6 separate regions of the Homo sapiens genome follow, and regions 1, 2, 3, 4 and 6 are each linked to region 5. Evidence: promoter capture Hi-C in human tissues and cell types (Jung and others, 2019). All regions are on one chromosome and are shown on one strand. The core of a region is centred on a gene start or on the middle of the fragment in contact, and the rest is flanking DNA. Distances in the headings are between cores, read along the strand shown.

Region 1 (3,975 bases), core at 146-2,645, 120 kb before region 5:
GGATTTATTTTTTGCTTAAGCATGATATTTGAGGATATAGATTATTTCCAATTTTTTATTATTTTGGTGGACATGCTTGACAAGCTTCTTCCTATGAGTTAATTGCTTGGGATTTTCCTAAAAAGTGAAATTTATTTTATTTTTGTACTTTTCACTATAAATTTCTCCAAGTGTTCTTTAAAATGTTTCTATAATCTATTATAACCTTATGTATCTGTTAACCATTATAAGCACTAACATAAGAAATTTAAGAATGTATGCATAATTATTTAAATGTCTTTTTAAAGTTTTGAATATAAGTTACGATATACCAAAAAACTTAATAAGGTGAAAACAATATTGCAAGGGGGCATGAGGATTAATTTTTTCTAATAGATGTAAATTACTATAATTTTAAAAATTGACTTGGAAATATGTTAAGTCATAGACCTAGTTAATCCTAAAATAGAGCAACCTGTTCGTTTTTTCATGTAGTACATACAATTTAGTTCCTGAGAAAAATAATCTATTAATAATAAAGTCATGAAATAAACAAAATTGGTGATATCTTTTCAATGGAATACCATTCCCCTTTCATATTTTAGCATATTTAAAGAGCATTTTATAGCACAATTATAACTATTATAGATGTCAATATAAGAAATTTAATGACTTATTTATAATGATCCAAATGTCCTTTTTAAAAATCTTTGAATTAGAGCACAGAAAATTCTATACTATCCATTGCACTGGTTACTTGAGAAGCTGGCCTCCAAATATTGTTGGAATGGAAGAAGAAAGGAACAGTAAGAAAGACAACAGTAATTTTACCTGCCTTGTGGCCATTGGAAGATTACAGCCATATATTGTTCCACAGAACAGTGGAGAGATTAATGTGAAACCAACTGAATTTATAACCCGGTTTGCAGTGAATGGAAAATTTGTCTATGTAGATCAAAGGTAAACATTTACATGTTATAATGATTAGAATTCAATGGGATATTTGAAGCTATTAAAGGCGTGTCTTAGTAGCACTGCTAGTTTTTCTTTTTCTTTTTTCTGTTTCAGAACAGAAAATAAAGTTTAAATGAAATAAGAATATGGACATGTCAGTAAATTTGCTTAAGCCAACATGTAAACTTGGAAGAGTGTCTCTTAGCCAGTGGTGCAGAAACTGGGCATGATCTGTGGCCACGATTTTACTGGCAAAAGCTAGTAGGAGCACAGCCTGGATCGGGTGGAGGCTTCATGCCTGGGTGCCTGTTCTGTGTTGCAGCTCTAGTCTGGGTCTAGGGCAGCCGAGGGGAGCCCAGTGATATGCATGGGTCACTCATCCCCTACCCTGTGCACTTCTTTACGATCCTGACCATATGTGGGCCTACAGTCTTCTGGGAGGGAGTACACTCACCACTTCTGAAGTTTATTTTCAATTTTGAAACCAGGGCAACAGCGATTTTAGGATATCTGCCTCAGGAACTTTTGGGAACTTCTTGTTATGAATATTTTCATCAAGATGACCACAATAATTTGACTGACAAGCACAAAGCAGGTAGGTATGCATTGAGCAGAATACATTTTGGGGAATTTAAAATGACAGTTTTAACTCTTAATTTCCCATTCCTGTGAAATTTGAAGTTTGAATTAATCTTCACAACATTGATTTTTATAGTCATTGACTATTATGCTGATAATTATCTTTTCTCGTTAAGTTCTACAGAGTAAGGAGAAAATACTTACAGATTCCTACAAATTCAGAGCAAAAGATGGCTCTTTTGTAACTTTAAAAAGCCAATGGTTTAGTTTCACAAATCCTTGGACAAAAGAACTGGAATATATTGTATCTGTCAACACTTTAGTTTTGTAAGTAATTTTTTATGTTAAGACCTTTATATTGATTTCAAATGAGTCTCTTTGCTTTTCTCCTCTCATCTTGCTAAACCATTAAAACTGTGTGATCCTCTGGCCTTTTATTGTAACTTGAGATTTATCTTTTGAGTAATTCATTTACTGTTCATTGACATTAGTTCTCAGAATTAAGCTAAAAGTTTTCATTTCTGTAATACATTCCTTCTTACTTGATATAATATGTGAGGGTAAAGGCATTTATTCAAGCATTTTCTTCCTACCCTCCATGGCCATTCAGTAAACAATGCAGACGTGGATTTCTACTGTGCATTATTGTAAGAAATTGTTTTGTCCTCCCTGTCATTTTTACCTGCACATCTTATAAGCCTGGGGTGCCGCCATGTCTGTGTAGGCATGCTCAGCACGGGGGAGAACAGAAATCCAGCCCAGGTGTTGCTTTAGCAAGCTCTGGTCTGTAGCTGTGTCAGCCTGAAGGAAGAGTCAAGTTTTCCTGATTTTATAGGAGGCTAGGATGGCCCCGTTGTAAGTCTTACTTTTTTTCTGTAAGTTTCTCTTTGAAATTGCTGTAAGGTTTCCTTGAACCAGTTATTTCCTTGTCTACAATACTGAGAGAAAAATAATAAAAAAAAAAAAAGTTTAATACTTCCAGTATTTCCTGTCACCCATCCCAGTAGTCTTTGCCTACTTATTATTAGTACAGGAACTGAGAGTTTGTTATTGTGAGAACACATACTTTATAGAGGAATGGGGCATTTGGCAAACACCATGATACTTAGCACATTAAGACCTTGATTTCTGGTGGTGATACTAACAATATGTGTATATAAAACATAAATGGGCCACAAATTGACAAATTAAATATACAGATCTTAGTGTAGTTGCTATAACAGTTTCCTTCACCTTAGAAAGTAAATCACCTATGGTGTTTTTAATTCTAGGGGACATAGTGAGCCTGGAGAAGCATCATTTTTACCTTGTAGCTCTCAATCATCAGAAGGTAAGCTTACTTTTAGATGATGGAAGACTTATTACTAAGACATATTATTAAGACTATTACTATCTTTTTCTGTCCTGGAGAGGGGAAAATTTGAAGGTGAAATTAAAAGTAGTTCTGCAGGTTGGGTTATAGGAATCCCAACTTTGGTTTAGAAGAGACTAAATTCAACGGGAAATAGATATCCCATTTAAACTCCCAGAGGTATCACCATGTCCCCCTCAAAATTCCCACAGTGCTTTGCTCACTTTTCTGTTATAATCTTGCATTATACTGCAATTAGTTGTTCATTCAACTTGCTTTCCAGTAGACAGTTCTTTAAGGCAGGAATGATGTTTTATCCATTTTTCAGCCCTAGCAGCTAACATTGTTCCTTGTCAATTGTGACACTCTTGGACAAATTAACGAAAAGTATTGGGGGAGTTTTTGCTTATCTGTGTGAGTTTTTCACCACAGGAATATATTAATGTATTATTTGTAAAAATAAAAATCTTAGGAAACATTGAAGTAGTATTGCTGTGGAGATTAAAGTGGCAAGAGACTGGAGTCAAGGGTTACTAGTCACAATTGTGCCCTCAGTGACTCTACACATTTGATTCAAAGAGCATCATGAATTACATATGTAATGCAAGGATGAGTGTTTTCCAACTTTTTTGGATGCAGCTAGTCTGTTTCTTTTAAGGAGAGAACTGTGAAATTATTTGAATTGAAAGAAAGATAAAGTCCTCAACTGAATTTCTCCTTTTGCTGTTACTTAGAATCCTCTAGACAGTCCTGTATGAGTGTACCTGGAATGTCTACTGGAACAGTACTTGGTGCTGGTAGTATTGGAACAGATATTGCAAATGAAATTCTGGATTTACAGAGGTAATGTTTTATTGCTGCAAATATTTTCAAAAGTAAAAATATCATATTTATAAAATCAATATACAAAAATCAGTAGCCTTCCTATATACAAATGATAACCAGTTTAATATAATGGAAAATATTATCTTTACAGTAGCAACAAAAAGATATAAATTTTATAAGAAATATTCATACCAACATGAAAAAAAACTTTAAAATTCACAAAGATATATAAAAAGATAACTCATATAACTTCAGATATAAGCTGTTTTTCAACAGGAAGGCAGAAT
Region 2 (3,817 bases), core at 1,016-3,515, 79 kb after region 5:
CCAAATTCTTAGCTGAAATATTTATAACGATTATTTTTAGGGGCGGGGAGAGGATGGGTATGATTTCCTATGCTCTGTTTGCATGTTCATTCCCAAACAGATACAACCTTATCAAGGCTCATGCACTTAATTAAAGTGGGGGGCAGGTGGTGAAAATAGAGTGTTTTGGTGTACACAAGGTTAAACTGCATCATACCGCTGCCAAAGGCTACACACTCTGCTTGATGCTTTCCCATGGTTGATAATTTAATTTTATGACAGTCTCTGAGTTATGTGTTTTCATTCTAATATTAAGTTGTGCAATTCAGAGGACCTAGATTCGCCTCCAGAGTCCAGGACTCCCTGCAGCCATGCTGCCTCTTTTGAGAACTGACCTCAGCTGAGTTGTTTATGCATCATGAGTTGACATAGTCCACAGTGCTAATAGAGGGGAACTACAGGTTCCCTCTCCCACAACTTTACCATCTAGCACGGCCATGAACACAACTTACAGACTGAATTCTGCCACACATATAAACATTTCATGGCCAGCAGGCACAAAAACATCACACAACCTTGTTCTGTAAGCTCCCAAACTGCTGTGCAACAGGATGGCCAGTAGCCACATGTGGCTACTAAAATTTAAATGGAATTAAACAAAAATTGATTCTTCAGTCACATTAGCCACATTTCAAGTGGTTAGTGACCACCTGAACTAGTGGCTACCTTATTAGTCAGGTGAACAAAATATTTATGTCATCTTAGAAAGTCCTGTTGGACAGAGCTGCTCTAGACAGTCCCTGTGCTCTGTCCTTTGGTTGGATCTGGAGAACATTGAGCAAAAAGTTTCATTAGAAGCAGATGGGACAATATTCTAGCGTCAGGATTGGGCTAACTTTCTTGACAGCATGAGGTGACTAAATTTCCTCCAAAGCATCTAGAAACAGGACTGAAGAGAGTCTTCAGCTGAGGACACCATTTCCCCCTCCCTACCCAGCTTTATTGAGGCATAATTGACAGATAAAAATTGTATATATTTAAGGTGTACAGTGTGATGATTTCATGTATGCATACATTGTGAAATGATTACCACAATCAAGTTTATTAACACATATTAACACATCTATCACCTCACTGTGTGTGTGTGTGAAATCTATATTGTAGCAGATTTCAAGTATATAAAAGAATATTAACTGTAGTCACCATGCTGTACATCAGATCCCCAGAACTTCAAGGTCTGAGGGCACCCTTTGAAAGACGTAGACAACTGAGCTAGATAGACTCTTATTTTCAGGTTATGCAAGAGTGGGGAAGTCTACAATACTTAGAGCCCATTATGAACACTGAAAAATCATTTGCAGCATTCATTATTCTAAGTAACAACCCTCTGGTATTCATCAGAGATAAACATGGTTGACTTGGTTTTCTGTTTACATGAGCTTTTGATTAGTCATTCAAATGCTAACTACCCCAGGGTATAGGTTAAAAATAATTACTACCCTTGTATCACAAAAATACCCATGTTGTAATGTTTTGAAAAATTGCAGACAATATGACTGCCTGTGTATAGATAGCCTCATTTAGTTTTTGCAACAACCCTTTCCAGTAGAAATTGCAGGTATTAATCTCATTTTTGTCTCTATTGAATTCTCCAATATGCTGTGGCCAGGCTATTGCATGATGGAACCAGTTGCTAAAGAAATTCAAATTGTTCGTATAGCTGCCAAACATACAGCCTTTCTTATTGTATTTTATAATGTCAAGGCTCCTACATACTTTGGGCCAAGCCTGATGGTGCTTCATGCAACACCAAATACAGGCAACCTACAGTCCTCTCCTCGCTCTCTGTTGGAATATTTTCTGTATTTTTCAAATCGTTATTAATTCAGCAACTGTGTGCATACCAGTTGAGTGCCTATCAGGTTCCAGGTGCTGCATCCTGCCACTTCTAGCTGCAGCAGGTTCATTTTTAACCTGGCTTTGCTGCATCTATAAAATAGAGATGATAATGTTGTCTTTGCAGAGTTTTTGAAATGATTATATATGTGGGATGTTCTGTAAATGGTTTATTTTTATTGCATAATTGAGGAGACAAACTCCTTCCTCTCACTTTCCTTGGCAATACCCTTCTGGGAAAAATGTTTGTATTTTATTCTAAAATGTCAGACATAGACTACTTTCCAACCCTGATTCCATATCAAAATCATGTGTGCACACAATAATTATACTTGGATTTATGTGATTATCTGACTATCTCCCCCACTGGATTGGAGCCTCCACCAGGGCAAGGTGGATCGAATTCATTCTAGGAAGTGTCAGCATCTGCCAACATGGTGCCTGACCAACAAACCCCTCCTGGATTCTGGCCATCATGGTTAGGGAACCACCAGAGTTAGCATCCTTTCGCAATGTTTCAATTGCATGAGAGCCACACTGGAGACCATTTCTAGTGCATCTCTAGTTGGGGTGGAAATGCCCAGAAGGGATCCTTTTGGGCTAAGCAGAGGTTTGGTGAAATGAGTGTCATCTAATCTGGATGTTCAGAGCCAACAGTTGTTCTTCTTTTGGCACCATTCTAAATTGGGTAGACAACCCCCTTGGTGGGAAGAATTTTGCACAAAATATGTTTGTGGGGAAGGAGGAGAGACATAGACTCCCTGGGTACTGTTACTTACATCAGAGGAAACAAGAAAGTACAGATCAAAGAGCAGAGTTGGCATTTTACTACTTATCCTTAAAGGACTAGAAGTCAAGTGATCAAAATGTGAAGACCTTTGTTCTAGTTCTCTAGGGGACTATAAAGAAAAGTGGGGATGGGGTGGAAGTAAGAGGTGGAAATGCTCAAGGTTGATTCTCTAAGTGGAACCCCAAGGGTTCAGAGGCAGACTGACTGGCGTCCAGCTCCAGACTAACCCAGTTGGAGAAAATGGAGATAGGAGGTAGCCTACAGTGTTTTTATTATATTATGGAAAATCAGAAAGATGATATATAGTATCTGAGTGAGTGAAGAATGAATGTAAATAGCAGTAAATGTGAATGCCTGTTATAATTAATAATTAACTTTAATTTAATTAGAGAATTGAGGATGAGCAGAACCGCAACAGGTGAGCCTGGATTGCAGGGTGGGGTGAGATGAGGGTTGGATGTCTCTTGGCATCTCTTTGGCTATTCTCATCAGTCATCACAGAGTTCCCATTAGTAGACCTGCCTGTGGGCCAAAACCTCCTGCCTGTAAATGATTTTGCTGATTTAGTGCTTTATATTTCTGTCCATCCTATTCTTAGCATAAATAAAGCTTTCTCTGCACTTCCCTGAAGCTAAATAAAATTAAGCTATGGGAGGCTCCCTGCCTCTCGCATGGATCTCCCAGAGCATCTGTGAATAGACGCTGTTGTGTGTGCACACAATGGTCTCCATTCAATTAGGAACCACTTGTGTACATCTCCTCTAGGAAGAGAGCTCTTTACCTATATTAGTCTGTTTTCACACTGCTGATAAAGACACACCCGAGACTGGGAAATTTACAAAAGGAATAGGCTTAATGGGACTTAACAGTTCCATGTGGCTGGGGAGGCCTCACAATCTTGACAGAAGGCAAGGAGGAACAAGTCACATCTTACATGGATGGCGGGAAGCAAAGAGAGAGCTTGTGCAGGGAAACTCCCATTTTTAAAACCATCAGATCTCATGAGACCCATTCACTATCACAAGAACAGCATGGGAAAGACCCCCTCCATGATTCAGTCATCTCCCACCAGGTCCCTCCCACAACACATGGGAATTGTGGGAGCTACAAGATGAGATTTGGGTGGGGACACAGAGTCAAACCATATGATTA
Region 3 (3,836 bases), core at 117-2,616, 94 kb before region 5:
TTGGTTGTTTTTTGTTGAGGAGGGGAGGCAAGGCAGAGAAAGCTGTGTCACACCTTTTTAATGTTAATCTTGGCCACCTTTTTTTTTTTTTTAAAATACTCAGCCACTAGTCACTGTGGAGGACTCTGTCCATTGCTTAAGGCATTGTGTGTTGAGGGAGTCAGTAAAGAATTGTCTTAAATTCTTGTCCAGCTGTGTGCCTCTGGCCTTGGAATGACAGTTTCTTAGACACTCCTGGCTCCTGGCTGACTTTAAGGCAATGCTTCTCACATTTACTCCTGTCCAGGAGGAAACCTGTTACATTTTACCTTGGGGGTAAATACATGAAATAAATGTACTTTTTTTTTTTTTTTTTTACAAAACTACACTAAAATGGGATGCCTAGATTACATAAACTTAAAACTTACTAGAGCCCTTGAAAATTTTATTCAATACTTTGTTGACTGAGCAATCACCCAAAAGGCTTCCCATCTACCAGAAGGGACATGTAGACGAATATCACATAATTAGCTGATGATTAAATTATTTGGCAGCCCATGAATGTTCAGTTTGATTTAGCAAAGGTCAAGCAAAACACAGTTGTAGTGTCTGAAATATCTATTCTTGAGGGAGAAAATGGACACATAGATTATATGTAAAATAATTAAAACTTATGGAGTAAAAAGACACTATTTCTTTGTAGTAACGTATTAGTAGCAGATTGCTTTTTAAATTTTTTTTCTGTTTGTAAAAGAACTTTACATTCATTTTTGGAAAATTCAGGATTATATAAAGGTGCTAAGAAGAAAATAAAAATCACCTAATAAAAAATTTTACCACCTAGTGAAAAACCATAGTCAACACTTGAGTAGTCTTTCTCTTTTTTCAAGGCCTTTATATTCTAATGACTTTTTTAAAGTTAGAATCCTACTGTTTAATACAAAAAAGAATAATAAAATTGTACAAAGTAATGCGTATATTGGTTAAAAGTCAGATAGCATTTGAAGTCATAAAATTACAAAAAAAAAAAAATAGTCCCCACCTTAGCCCTAATTCTTGTTCTCCAGAGCAACCACTTATACCTTTTTTTAGCTGATTATCATATTTATAGTTATGTTTCTAAGTATACTTTTATTGTCACTTCATGAATGGCCCAGAATGAGTATAGAATAGGAAGTCAACAATTCATTTAAATATTTCTTTATTATGAAGCATTTAGGATGTCGGAAAGTTTTGCTATTGTGGGTAATATGACAGCTAACATCCCTTCTAGACACACACATGCTGTACACCTCTCTCCTGTTGTTTAGAATGAATTTCTTGGAGTGCAATTGCCAAATCAAAATTGCCCAATTGCCATAAAAAACAGTTTGCATTCAGCATTCTTTCCAGAGTTAATTTTATGTGGTTAAATATGTTGATATTTCTTGCCTAATTTCTTTGTTGTTATGCTTAGGAGGGAAAACTTCTCCACCCCAAGATCAAATAAACACACACCTCAGTTTCCTTCTAGGTGTCCTGTGGTTTCGTAGTTTATACTAAAGTCTTTGATCTAGCTGAAGTTTATTTTGGCCTCTAATAAGATACAGGAGTCTATTTTTCTTTCCAAAATATTATGCCCTTTCTCCACAACTCTTCAATGACTAGTCCTTTCTTTTCCCACTGATTCGAAATGTTGCCATTACCATCGATTAAGTTCTTGTATATTCTGGTACTCGTTTTGAAATGAAGTAATGGTGGTGGTGGGCAGGGAGTTGAATTAATGTGATTGTCTGTTCTTTCACCAGTACCAAGCTGTTTAAGTTAATAAACACAGTAGAGTTTGATACTGATCTTTCCATTATGTGATAGTATATCACTTTTTCTTCTCTTATTTTCTGAAAAGTGTTCAAACTATAAAATATAGTTCTATATATTTTGTTTATAAAATATAAGAAAACAGAGGGAATAGTGGCTTTTTCTGACTTTAACATTTCCTTTTAAAGTTTTTAATTTATCAGACTACCCATCAATGAGGCAGGAGAATTGCTCGAACCCAGGAGGTTCCACTGTGTTAGAACCAAACTTTCAGAAACAGTTTGGCTGTGTTAGCATTCCTTTAAACTTTTGTTATATACAGAAATCTAATTCCAACATGTTTATTCTTGGAACCATCTGCCCAATGCTACAATCTGAATTCTCTTGCGTTGTTGAAATTTTGAGGGAATAAGAATAAAATCGAACCTTTATTAAATACTTACCGTGGCTGGCACAGTTCCTAAGCCTATTACACGTATTAATGTAAGCCTCCTAAGAATCCTGAAGATAAATGCTGGTATTATCCCCCATTTTACACACAAGCAAACTGGGGCTTAAGAGTTAAGTAACTTAACAAGGTTACCCCACCGCTCATAAGCAGTGGAGTTAGAATCCAGACCCGAGCAGCTCGATGCATGCTCTCAACTGTGATTTTGATAAACCTTTGATTTATTGTGTGCTCTCGGGGACCCTAACCCCCTGAACTCAAAGCACAGCAATTTCTTTTACAAAAGATATTTAGTTATGAAAAAACACATGAAATTTACTATCTTTTTTTTTTTTAAGACAGCTCTGTTGCCCCAGACTGGAGTGCAGTGGTGCGATCTCAGCTTACTGCAACCTCCGCCTCCTGGGTTCAAGCCATTCTCCTGCCTCAGCCTCCCTAGTAGCTGGGATTACAGGTGTGCACCATCATGCCTGGCTAATTTTTTAAATTTTTAGTAGAGATGGGTTTTCGCCATGTTGGCCAGGCTGGTCTTGAACTCTTGATCTCAAGTGATCCGACTTCCCAAAGTGCTCGGATTACAGGCATGAGCTACTGCACCTGGCCTCAATTTACTACCTTAACACTACTGAACCACACATTTAGTGGTTAACTGTAGTCATGTTGTTTTGCAACAGATCTCTAGAATGTTTTCATCTTGCAAAACTGAAACTCCATACCATTTCCTCTTCTCCTCAGCCACTGGCAACCACTGTTCTGCTTTGTTTCTAAAGATCGAATACTTTAAATACAAATACATGAAGTATTTGTCTTTTTGTGACTGGATTTCTCTTAGCATCATAGCCTCAATGTTCTTCCATGTTGTACCATGTGACAGAATTTCCTTCTTTTTTGAGGCTGCATAATATTCCATTGTAGATCACATTTTAAAAAAATCCATCCGTCCATTGAAGTACATTTAGGTTACTTCTACCTCTTAGCTATTATGAATAATGCTGCCAGGAGCATGGGTGTGCAAATATCTCTTCAAGATCCTACTTTCAATTCTTTGGACATATACCCAGAAGTGGGATTGCTGGATCATATGATAATTCCATTTTCTTTTTCTTTTTTTTAAGGTAAGAAATCTCCAAACTGTTTTCCGTAGTGGTTGTACCATTTTACATTGCAATCACCAGTGCATAAGGGTTCCAGTTTCTCCACATCCTTGCCAACTCTTATTATAACTCTTGTTATACTCCTATTATTCTGTTTATTGGATAGTAGCCATCCTAATGGGTGTGCAGTGATATCTCATTGTGGTTTTGATTTGCATTTCTCTAATGATTAGTGTTGTTGGGTGTCTTTTCGATGTTTGTTGGCCATTTGTATATCTTCTGTCCTCTGCGCATTTTTAAATCAAGTTATTTGGTTTTTTTGTTGAGTTGTAGGAGTTTTTAAAAATATATTCTGGATGTTAACACCCTATCAGATACATGATTTGCAAATATTTTCTCACATTCCATAGGTTGTTTTTTCACTCCACTTATTGTTTCCTTTGATGTGCAGAAGCTTTTAAGTTTGATGCAGTCCTACTTGTCTATTTTTGCTTTTGTTGCTTGTGCTTTTGGTGTCT
Region 4 (3,651 bases), core at 557-3,056, 100 kb after region 5:
ATGAATGTGTAGACACCTGTGCAGACACACACACGCACATACTCTGAAACCACTGGAATGTCAGCCCCCTAAGGGCAGAGCTTCGCTTTTCTTGGTCTTTTTCACTGTTCTGCGTCTAATACCTGGCGCATAGGAGGCCCTCAATCAATATTTGTTGCAGGTATGTGTGTGTGTATGTGTGTGTCTGAATAATCAAATCAAAATTTTCACACGATAATGCTTAACCTTTACTCCTGATGAAATAGCCTTTTGTTGTCTATTTAATAAAAAGAAATACTGATTTTAGTCTAATAATTCTATTTCAGTACATTCTAATTTTAGGAGTCGTGACCCATGGTTTATAAAACATTCCTTTAGAAGGTGCTCATGTATAGGAATTTATTATTCTTTTCTTCTTCACAACTTTGAGTAGCTGTTGCTCACTCCTGTCTTCCTATGGGTATACATATCCCAGAACTGCTTATATCTAGGAAGCAGTCCATGTAGCCTGCATACATTAGGTTGGTAGGCCTGTGAAGGAAAATAGAGATAGATGAGTCTCCAGGTTTTAAAGAGTTAAAAAGAAGGGAAGAATGAGGTTAGAGTTAGAGTGGGTAGAGCAATAACAAGTTGAAACAGACCCGCTGATACTCCTCCATAATACTGGGGACTAAGTTTGCAAACTCTTAGGAATAATGTCATTCCAAAATAGTACAATGAATTTGATTCGCCTACATCTCAAAGAGCATGAAATTTCAGTTTTTAAGATTGTGGATAGCAAGGCTAATAATAATGATCGCATTTATCTAAATGTATCTTAAAATTTAAGGTCATGGCTCGGTGCAGTGTCTCACATCTGTAACCCCAGCACTTTGGGAAGCCAAGGGGGAAAGGATTGCTTGAGCTCAGGAGTGTGAGACCAGCCTGAGCTATATAGCGAGACCTGGCCTCTACTAAAAATAAAAATTTTAAAAATCAGCTGAGTATGGTCGCACCCACCTGTGGTCCCAGCTAGTGGGGAGGCTGAGGTGGGAGGATCACTTGAGCCCAGAAGGTCAAGGCTGCAGTGAGCCGCGATCATGCCACTGCACTCCATCCTGTGTGACAGAGCCAAGACCTTGTCTCAAAAAAAACAAAACAAACAAAAAAACAAGTAAAGGTCAAGATGTAGTTTTCTGGCTTATGCAGCTAAGAGGAAGGTGATATTATCAGCCAAAACAGGGCATATGGGAGCCAGGATACTTAAGACATCAGAGTGTGTGTGTGTTTGCGGAGCCACTGAGTCATAGCTGCACACAGCAAGCATTTGGTGTCCACCACACTAGAAGATGCGGAGCAGATAGCAGAAATACAGTCTGTTTTCAAGGAGCACACAGCTTCATCCAGGAGACAATCACTGTAAAATCAGGGCTGTCATGGAGGTGGCGGTCAGGCTGGCCTTGGAGGAAAGAATGCATGACCCACCTTGAAAAACATGTGTCCCAGGACAAAGAAGAGGGTCCAAGCAGTAGGGGGATCAGTGCATGTCATGGCACAGAGGTGAGAGGGCAGAAGTGTCTTCTAAGGAGGGCATGTCTTTGCAGTATGGTGGGAGGCCGGCAGTCCTGTACATAGTTTATGGTTTGGATTAGAAACTACCAAATGAGTGAGAGGCATATGTGGGAACAATATGGCTTTTAGACTCAAATCTCACTTATTCAGTGACCTTGAACAAATTCCTAACTCCTCCGTGTAGTCATAACAATAGCTAGTAAGAGTAGATATGGAGAATTGCAGCTTTCTTTCAACTTGTCACAACTTATCACAAGATCTTCAAATCTACTGACATTTAATACACATCAGTTTTTCAATAGCAGCAGCATCCTTTATTCGAGAAGTAAAAGATCTTGGCTTATTGTATGAAACTTTTCATCAACTCTCTTCTGGTTATTCCTAAGCATTAATAGCAGAGAGCCAGAAGGCTCATTTCCTTTTACCTCATCCTATTTTCCCTTGCTGCTTCATTTACTTGATTACTTACTAGCTTTGCCTCTTTGTATTTTGTGGCGTTTCATTTTAGTGAACAAGAGAAGTAACTTTTACTAATGTATTGTCATTAATACGCCCTCTTTTGTACTCTGCCTTACAATCCTCTGTGAGTGGCTGTTCCATTTCCTGAATAGCGTGTGCATGTGTGTGTTTGTATTTGTGAGGGTGGTTAAAGTAACAAGTGTTTTATTATTTGGTTTATAAATATTTGGTGAGCCCTTAGTATGCTTGAGGTTATGATAGAGAAATAAAATATCTAAGACAATATGTCATGGTTGAAGGTGTTGAAAATTTTGTGGTTTAAATACATGGATGAAAAAACTGAAACGTTTTATTATGGAAAGCTTCAAATATATAAAAATATAGATAGGATACCCAACTGGGTGCAGTGGCTCACACCTCTACTCCCAGTACTTTTGGAGGCTGAGGTGAGCAAATTGCTTGAGCCCAGGAGTTCAAGACCAGCCTGGGCAACATGGCGAAACCCTGTCTCTACAAAAATAAGCCAGGTGTGGTAGTCCCAGCTACTAGGGAGGCTGAGATGGGGGGATTGCTTGAGCCCAGAGAGGTTGAGGCTGCAGTGAGCCATGTTTGCGCCACTGCACTCCAGCCTGGGCGATAAAATGAGACTGTTTCAAAAAATATTTGTATAGATGGATAGAATAGTATAGTGTACCCCTACATACCACCACCCATTTTCAACAATTATCAACTTATGGCTAATCTTGTTTTATTAATATCTTTACCCTTATTTTATTCTATTTTATTTTAAAGCAAATTCCAAATGTTGTATCATTTTATCCATGAGTATTTTGTAACTTGTCTCTAAAAAATAAGGACTCAAAAAAGATAAGTATAATAGCATTATTAATAACCTTAGAATGACAGTAAGTCCTTAATATCAAATACACACTGTTCAAATTTCCAGTTATATCATCCATTCTATACTTATTTTACAGTTTTTTACAGTTTTTTTTTTTTTTTTTGGAGACAGAGTCTTGCTCTGTCGCCCAGGTTGGAGTGCAGTGGCACTCCAATCTCAGCCCACTGCAATCTCAGCCTCCCAGGTTCAAGTGATTCTCCTGCCTTAGCCTCCCGAGTAGCTGGGACTACAGGCACATACCACTATGCCCAGCTAATTTTTGTATTTTTAGTAGAGATAGAGTTTCCCCATGTTGGCCAGGCTGGTCTCGAACTCCTGACCTCAAGTGATCTGCCCGCCTTGGCCTCCCAAAGTGCTGGGATTACAGGGTGAGCCACTGCGCCTGGCCTTATTTTACAGTTTGAAGCCTCCTCAGGAGGGGCTAAGGTGGGAGGATCACTTAAGCCCAGGAGTTTGAGGCTAGCCTGGGCAATATAGCCAGACCCCATTTTTTAAAAAAAGTATTGTAACATTAGATATCGCCCCTGCTGCCAACATCCCCTACCTTTTCTGGTTTCGCCACCTCCCCTGCCCTTGTTTTGCCCTTTCCAAGTGATTCTGAATTAATTTTCTAGGGATGTTAGAGCAGATTGGTGGTGAGAAGGGCTAATAGATTGGGGAGGAAAAAAACATGTGATGACAGATACAGAGCAGAGAAACAGAAAACAAGGAGGGTTGTATTTAAGAATCTCTAAAATGTTGCACGCATAAGTACCTATAGT
Region 5 (3,855 bases), core at 1,293-3,792:
TTATTTGGGGATAGACTGCATTTAAAGAATGGAAGAGAATAGAAATGATACAATGATCTATTTTCTCATGCCCTATATTTTTATTGAGCCTTTTCCTTGAATTGGGTATAAGGAATATAAAGAGGTCCTATAAGCAAGATGCTTGCTCTTCAGAGTTTGGGAAGGCAGGAAAGGCATTTAACTGGACATGTATAACCACATGTTTACACATCTGTACAATCTCAATCCTTATAACAACCTTTAACATAGGTATTGTCAGCCCTATTTTAAAGAGGAGGTAACTGAGATTCGGGATGGATGTTTTAGTGACTTGCCCAAAGTTACCCAATAGCTAAGTGGCAGAGCCAGGCCAAGAACCTTGAGTCCTTTTCTCTGTCCACTGTAACACACAGCTAAGTCTTGGCAGAGGACAAGGACTTTAATTTAATTAGGCTTTGAGAGAAGGGTGGGACTTAACCCACAGAGGAGTGGGGATTTCGGTTAGGCTGAAAGGTGAGAACGAAGCAGGGATCTGTGAGTAGACCTGTTTGACTACAGAGAGGGTTTCCTGGGAGCGAAGTGGGAGATAAGCTGGGAAAGGTAAGAAGCAGGATAAGAGAGAGTTTTAAATGGCTAGATAAGAATTGCAGGGAAAGGGGGACCTGATTTAGAGGGGAAGATGTTGATGACAAAACCAAACATTTTAGAAAACTCATCGGTAGTGAGTGGTACAGAGAAATAATTAGAACTGGGGGAAACTGGAGTCAGAAATTCAAGTCAGGAGTTTGGAATACTGCAGGTCTGACAAGCAACAAGATGGTAATTATATAAAGTAGGTCTGTGAGAGCAGTGGCCCAAGCCTGTGGATTTCTTGTAGCATTCTATTGTTTGAAAAAGTATAAATTATGGACACTCAATACTTGAGATATAGAAAGAAAATCAATGGCTTTGGAGTCAAATAGACCTCGGTTTCAATCCAAGTTCTAGCTGATTTGGAGAAATTTACTTACATAACTTTGCTGAGCCTTTGATTCCTTACGTTAAAATAGGGCTAGTAACACTCAATTTACAGGATGATTGAGAAGATTAAACAAGACACAATGCTGGATTCTGTGCATCCCTCTACAATTTTTGGCAGATCGGTAAATGTATGGCATGTCATCAATCAAAAAACAATGAGGCCTGGTGTGGTGGCTCACGCCTGTAATCCCAGCAGTTTGGGAGGCCGAAGAGGGTGGATCACCTGAGGTCAGGATTTCGAGACCAGTCTGGCCAATATGGCGGAAACCCCGTCTCTACTGAAAATACAAAAATCAGCCGGGTGTGGTGGTGGGCGCCTGTAGTCTCAGCTACTCGGAGGCTGAGGCAGTAGAATCACTTGAACCCAGGAGAAGGAGGTTGCAGTGAGCCAGATCATGCCACTGCACTCCAGCCTGGGTGGCAGAGTGACCTGTTTAAAAAAAGAAGAAAAAAAAGAGAAAGTTATTAATTCACTATATTTTTAGAAGATGGTGGGTTATATGCTACCTATATCTCATACAAATAAAGCTGCTTTTCACCATTCAGGTCTGCCTGTAAGCAGCATCTGCCTTGAAAGAACCATTTTCTGAGAATCTTTTTCTTCTGTCAGCCAAGGGGATTATACCGCATGATATCTGTCAAGGATAAACGTTAGTTAATTCTTAATTGAGAGCTCAGCCACTACAATTGGTTCCATTCTACAGTAATTATTCTCATGTGGTTTGTGGAACTCAATTGTGAGGTCCCTCCTTCCTCCACCCTTTTCAGTGTGTGCATTGAAACAGCAGCCTTAAGGTCTTTAAACGGGGAAATACATTTTTCTTGCTTCAGAGATTCAATTTTACTTGCCCGAGAAGCTTGTGTGGTGTGATTTTCATCGCTAAAAGCAACAGCAGCCACATGGCTGACAACACCACCACTTAACAATTCAAAGCTCGGTCACCGTTTTCAGGAGTCTCTTCCAAATCTTTCTGAAGTGCTTTTGAAGTTCTACATTCCCCGTCTAAGGGAACACCCAGCAGTCCCAGGATAAAAGGGCAGAAGGGTGAGCTGACGTTTTCCTTTATTTGCATGGCTTAAAGCTAGCCATTTTCTACACCACGCGCCGCCGGGCTTGTACATGCCCGTGTGCCTGTGACACCGAGGCAATTGTTTCTCCTTAAAAAGGGGGTTCGCGTGGGTTAGTTTCGTTTCTGATCTGGAATCTCAGTAACTACAACAAGAAAAGTTTAAAACTCGACCCGCCAGGTTCTTCCCCATCGGATTATCTCCGTTCCTTAGAGATAGCAGGAAGGGCAGCATTTTCTTCCATCCACCCACTTCCAGCCCTAGTCTGGCTCAGCGAGGAATGCATAAAATTAGTGGACTCCTCTGAGTGACGTTCCCCGGCTCCAATCAGCGGGCGCGCAGGCGCCCCCGGCCCCGCCCCACTGCTGACTCTCTTTGGCTGATTCCTGCAGGGAGGGAGGAGAGAAGGGCGGCAGTGGGAGGGGGAGGTACCTGGAACTGGGAGTGATGTCAGCTCCCAGCTCGGTGCCTGCCCGGATTCCTGACATGGTGTAGTGCAGGCAGGGTGGGGAAAGGACGGGGAAGGACTCGTGTGCTGCGAGCTGGCGGCCGGGCCGGAGTGCTGGGGCTTTGAACTCCGAGAGGAGGTGGACCAGAACTTTTGGAACTAGTGCCGGCGGCTCTCCACCCCCCAGGTAAGGGCGTTTTGCTCCACTCCCAGACGGGAGGGAAGTGGCACCGTTGTGTGGCTGCAGCTGGCTGTTGCAGCTGCTCCTCCTCTTCCCCGGGTCGATTTCCTTGTGCAACTCACTCCTGTTTCCCAATGGGAACGGGCACTTTTTGGGGGTGGTGGGGGTGGAGGGGTAGGGCTTAACTCCTGGGGCTTGGACCGAGCTTGTACGTGAAGAATACTCCAGGATTGGACGTTTAGGTCTTGTCTGTATCCTTAGACCCCCACACCCTAGGCTCCCGGTAATACCTGAGAACCCCAACCAGAGGGGCGTGTGTGTCTCTCTGTCTGTGTGTATTGAGGCATTTAAAAATGCCACAAAAAATTATGGATCATCGACTCAAAAATTATGCTCGTTGAAAAGAAAAAAAAAGTTTTGTATTTTTTTGTCTCCTTGTGGCCTATTATATATTAAAAGAATATCAATGTTAGTCTTATATATCAATGTAAAATATCCTTTTGTGTAATCCAGTCAGGATGTGAGAAATTCACTTGGGGTGTTTATTAATTATGAGCTTGCGGGAAAACTCGTCTCTTGGGGGCACACTTCTAAAACTGCAACTAGTATTCACTCATTTTAACCGAGAAATCCCTTCAGCTGCCAGCTTTATATCTGGAGAGGTTAGGATGGCTGCTGAGAATCTTCAGATCTGTTTCCTGTGGCTGCTTGAGGGGCGAGCTGGTAGTTGTGTTTTCAGGGATCTTTTTTAGAGAAGGGAGTTTTAACAGGGAAACGCGGTGGAAGGCGTGGCATATAAACTCTTAATTATAGGGACGTGAAGTTTTCAACATGTGGGACCAAAACAAATCCTTGCTTTCAGTAAGAACTGCGGAGAGCAATAGAAAAAGAACTTGATTTCAAAGTCCAAGTTTGGTATTTTGAGAAAGCAATTGCGGGAGGAAAAAGATACTTTTAAGAAGTGAAAGAATAGAATTCTGATTTTTGTTTATTTCCTATTTCAAACCCTGTCTTTTTCCTATGTGGAGATTTTGTGTGCCCAGGTCACTAACTGGGTGTGATTGACTTTCTCGAGGGGGCGGGGAAATTGACTCCATACACCGATTCAGGACCCTCTCATCAGTGCTTTAAGGCTCTCTTTTGGAGCAGGAAGGAAAAA
Region 6 (3,444 bases), core at 194-2,693, 75 kb before region 5:
AAATTTTGGACTTAAGTTCTTGATTTACCACTTACTAGCTGTAGGACCTTGAACAAGTCACCCTCCTCCCAGAAGTTGTTACTCATTGTTAAATTGAGAATATTATCAAGTACCCTACAGAGGTGTTGTCAGGATTAGTGACATAATAGATGTAAACCCAGAATGCTATGTCTGCCAGGTCAGAATTGCACGATAAAGAAGAGTGCCCTCCGCCTTAGTTCTCCCAAGCGGCAAGTCTTTACTGAGTTTAGTAGAATACTACTTGTTGAAATAGAAAGGGTGGCCACACTTGAACTTAATGCCATTTTTCTTTCTATTTTCCCCCAACTGCATAAAAGCAAAACCAAATAAACAAACCTGAGAATTGAACTGGAATCAATGCTTTTCTCGGCATTGTGTCAGAAGAACAAAACTTAAACTGGGGCCAGCAGACCCTTAAGCTCCTTAAGCCAGGCTCTGGGACCCTTGGGATTAAATTTTTAAAATCCTCTCTCCAGTTCTAAACAAAAGTAAACAAGGGAACCTTTTATAATGTGGTTCAAGGTGAGGCAGTAAACAAATGACCTTTAAGCAGAATAATCAGCTTAATATGTACTAGCTGGAGGTTAACATTTGCATTGAGAAAGGTCTTATGGTCTTATTGATAATTCACTCGGAGGTCACTCTAACATCCTCTACCCTCATTCTCCAACCACATGATTCTCTAAACCCCTCAATCTCCCGCTCCCACACATAGTCTACCAGTTGACCAAATAATGAGAGAAGAATGGAATTGTCAAACCAGAATCAAAGGGGTAAAAGACAGAAGGACTTTGAAAGAGGAGAAAGAGAAGGCAAGCGGTGGGAAACTGTCCATCCACTGCAGACTCAAGTGTATGTTGGCTCAAAAAGTTGAGGACTAAGGCCAGCCTAGGTCTCAGCCACCCTGCAGGCTTTGTGTGGGTCTGAAAACTTGACCTGATTATATGCTCCTAAGTGTTCTAGACTGGCTAAACCAAGACTGTTGAATTATAAATCATGCCACCCCTGCACCCGCTTCCGTGATCACAAAAAAAACATAATGCTAGCGTTATTAGATAAGCCGCAAAGGTCATCAAGGTGTTTCTTTGAACTGCCACACCCAAACGAAATACTTGCTCTGATCTTTGCATAAACAACATTTGGATGAACAAACATTTCATACTTTCGTTATGTTTATCTTTGTAAGGGACAAAATCTGTCACCTGCTGCATACTTCTGAAAAAATTATAGGAACAAGTTGACATACTTTCTCAATTATACAGAATTCTCTGCAAAAATGAAATTATTAAAATTAATTGTGAGAAACACAGGAAACTGCTTATGGAGGGATCACAGTAAGAGACTGACAGAAGGGAGTAATGAGGCTTCTCCTCCATTTCCTTCTTGGAAACTTTTTCTGCACAGAGAAAATGTGGTTGAAAACCTATTGTGCCTTGGATTGAGTTAAAGGTCACACCCAAGGATTTATACAGATTTAGTTCTCATCTGGTCCCTTGAAGGGGGGAAAAGTTAAAATATCCAATACAAATCCATTGAGTGATGCACTGATAACACCAATTATGTCCCACTCCCCTCTTGGTACATTGGACTTCTATTTCTCTGGCTGGGTATTTCCATTGTCCTATAATACAATGACAGGCTCTTACAAGGCCAGTTTTCCCCCATTAGAGAACCAAAAGGAGGGGCTGAGCCCATTTCTTGGGCTTTAATGCCTGGCTACGTGGGTCCGAATCTCTAGCTAAGCCCTTCCTGTAGGACTGTTGAAAGACTCGAGCAGGCAGCCCTGCCTTTGCTGCCTCCCTTCATTCGTTCTCACCTCCATCCATTCATCGGCCAGTTTTAGCTCATGACCCCTACTCCAATCATAATTGTCTCCTCTTAAGTCAATCTTATCAAATGCTGTGCGGAATGGATTCTGTGGGCCACATTCAGGAACACAGAGTTCTTCCCAGCTCAGCTCTGCTCCTCTCAGGGTAGAGGTCTGTGGAGCCTCTGGCTGCCTGTCCTGTTCTGAGGGTCACACCTGGTCACCAAAACATATTCTCCTCAAGGCTGTTGACCTTCCTTTCTTGATTCAGGCCTTGCAATCCCTACCTTGGGAAGGAGGCAGGCACCCTATTTCTCTGGCCCTCCTCCCTCCCTGCCCCCACCCCCCACCAACTAGGCTGGGCTGCCTGACAAGCACCATGTGACCTCGCCTGTTTCTTCTGATGCCCAGTTTCCACTGGACCTCTGTGTCCTCATTACAAATGAATTTTATCAACTAGCTGAGGCTTCTTCTCACCTAGTTTGTTAAAATCCAACACTAGTAAGGCTAGGACCATTCCTTCAGTGCAAACAGTGTGCTGAAGATGAGTGTAAGTTAACATTGATTTTACCCTCAGCGGCTCCTGGGAAGCCATACTTCAGGACTGGTAAATCAGCACGAGGAGGATCACAACCCAAAGTGCTCACAGAGGGAGCAGTGCTGCCAATCTTTATCTAAACCAGGAACAGAGAATAGATGTTGAAAAGAATGCTCACTGGTGAAGGACTGTTCCTAGATTTTTTCTAAGTATTCTTATAGCTATTTAGAAATTGACTTTCAAGAATATTTGCCTGTCTCATAAAATTAAATAACAATTCTATATTAAGGTAAAATGGGCTAAATCTTTTTAGGTGGTGTTTTCTTGGTCTTTTTGTATGATTGGCTTCATACAGTGAGTACTGCAAAGTTATGTCCATGAACGAGGCTATCCTCACAGGGAAAGAGTTGCTGCCCTAAATAATTTCTTGGGAGGAGTGAAAGAGAAATTTTAGAAGCTTTAGGAGACACTGATTTATTCCAAAGAATTCTAGATTTTGATAAACTTTACAAATTGCCAAGCCGAGGCTCTCATTCATCTTTTCTCATGTAAATAATAGAAAGATACAAATATATCTGTCATTTATTTTACTACTACAGATAGTTATTATTTACTATTTGTTCTCTGTCCAAAATTTCAGATTACAGTTAATTCTCATTATACCTGGTAGTTCTGTTCTGTAGAGTCTCTGTGAACACTGAATTAGCAAATGCAAAACTGTTGCTCCCAGGGGAAGTACAGGGTTAGGCTCTTTCAAGCCTCTAGTCACATTTTTTTTTCTAACATTATCTTTTGGAGGCTCAGCCTGACATTGTGGGGAGAGGGGGACCCTGGGCTGGATAGCACTCCCCATTGGGGTTATAACGGTCATCCATTTCTGTCTCTTCTCTTTCCCCCAACCTCCCCCCTGCTGGTCCCCTCTCTAGTCACATTTTTATCAAATGATCAATATGTAGCCTCGTTTTATATGTGTTTCTGTTTAAAGACACTGTGCTCAATATTTACTGTTGATGCATTAACATCCAGTTCACAGCCAACAACAAGGTTTATCTAACACGTGTATTTTCTCCACAAAGCA

What was found. The method cuts DNA at HindIII sites, captures the fragments that hold promoters and counts their contacts. A contact is called where the count stands out against the background at its distance.
Region 1: a fragment that was not itself captured here is called in contact with the fragment with the promoter of PPFIBP1 in region 5 in 2 of the 25 tissues and cell types used here (liver and thymus).
Region 2: a fragment that was not itself captured here is called in contact with the fragment with the promoter of PPFIBP1 in region 5 in 2 of the 25 tissues and cell types used here (adrenal gland and hippocampus).
Region 3: a fragment that was not itself captured here is called in contact with the fragment with the promoter of PPFIBP1 in region 5 in 3 of the 25 tissues and cell types used here (H1 embryonic stem cells, aorta and hippocampus).
Region 4: a fragment that was not itself captured here is called in contact with the fragment with the promoter of PPFIBP1 in region 5 in 3 of the 25 tissues and cell types used here (adrenal gland, mesenchymal stem cells and ovary).
Region 6: a contact is called between a fragment that was not itself captured here and the fragment with the promoter of PPFIBP1 in region 5, in 11 of the 25 tissues and cell types used here (IMR-90 fibroblasts, aorta, bladder and 8 more).

Annotation. Positions count from the first base shown.
Region 1 is chr12:27,399,836-27,403,810 of GRCh38, forward strand. It overlaps BMAL2 (basic helix-loop-helix ARNT like 2), which reads left to right. Exons shown (of 17, transcript NM_020183.6): 10 at 699-939; 11 at 1,422-1,528; 12 at 1,689-1,839; 13 at 2,784-2,842; 14 at 3,598-3,706. All of the region lies in intron 1 of BMAL2-AS1 (BMAL2 antisense RNA 1), which reads right to left. Among named protein-coding and RNA genes, the nearest start is that of BMAL2-AS1, 45 kb to the right of the region's middle. The HindIII fragment of the contact is 4,832 bases long and covers 1-3,811 here.
Region 2 is chr12:27,601,302-27,605,118 of GRCh38, forward strand. The region is part of intron 2 of PPFIBP1 (PPFIB scaffold protein 1); the gene reads left to right. Among named protein-coding and RNA genes, the nearest start is that of PPFIBP1, 79 kb to the left of the region's middle. The HindIII fragment of the contact is 3,618 bases long and covers 457-3,817 here.
Region 3 is chr12:27,428,481-27,432,316 of GRCh38, forward strand. All of the region lies in intron 1 of BMAL2-AS1 (BMAL2 antisense RNA 1), which reads right to left. It also overlaps a transcript of SMCO2 not described here. Among named protein-coding and RNA genes, the nearest start is that of BMAL2-AS1, 16 kb to the right of the region's middle. The HindIII fragment of the contact is 6,575 bases long and covers 1-3,836 here.
Region 4 is chr12:27,622,605-27,626,255 of GRCh38, forward strand. The region is part of intron 2 of PPFIBP1 (PPFIB scaffold protein 1); the gene reads left to right. Among named protein-coding and RNA genes, the nearest start is that of REP15, 72 kb to the right of the region's middle. The HindIII fragment of the contact is 5,434 bases long and covers 1-3,651 here.
Region 5 is chr12:27,521,664-27,525,518 of GRCh38, forward strand. PPFIBP1 (PPFIB scaffold protein 1) reads left to right here and starts at 2,543. Exons shown (of 30, transcript NM_003622.4): 1 at 2,543-2,702. RefSeq lists enhancers at 1,360-1,961, 1,859-2,318, 2,565-3,165. The HindIII fragment of the contact is 12,160 bases long and covers 1-3,855 here.
Region 6 is chr12:27,448,139-27,451,582 of GRCh38, forward strand. The region is part of intron 1 of SMCO2 (single-pass membrane protein with coiled-coil domains 2); the gene reads left to right. Among named protein-coding and RNA genes, the nearest start is that of SMCO2, 3.1 kb to the left of the region's middle. The HindIII fragment of the contact is 8,253 bases long and covers 1-3,444 here.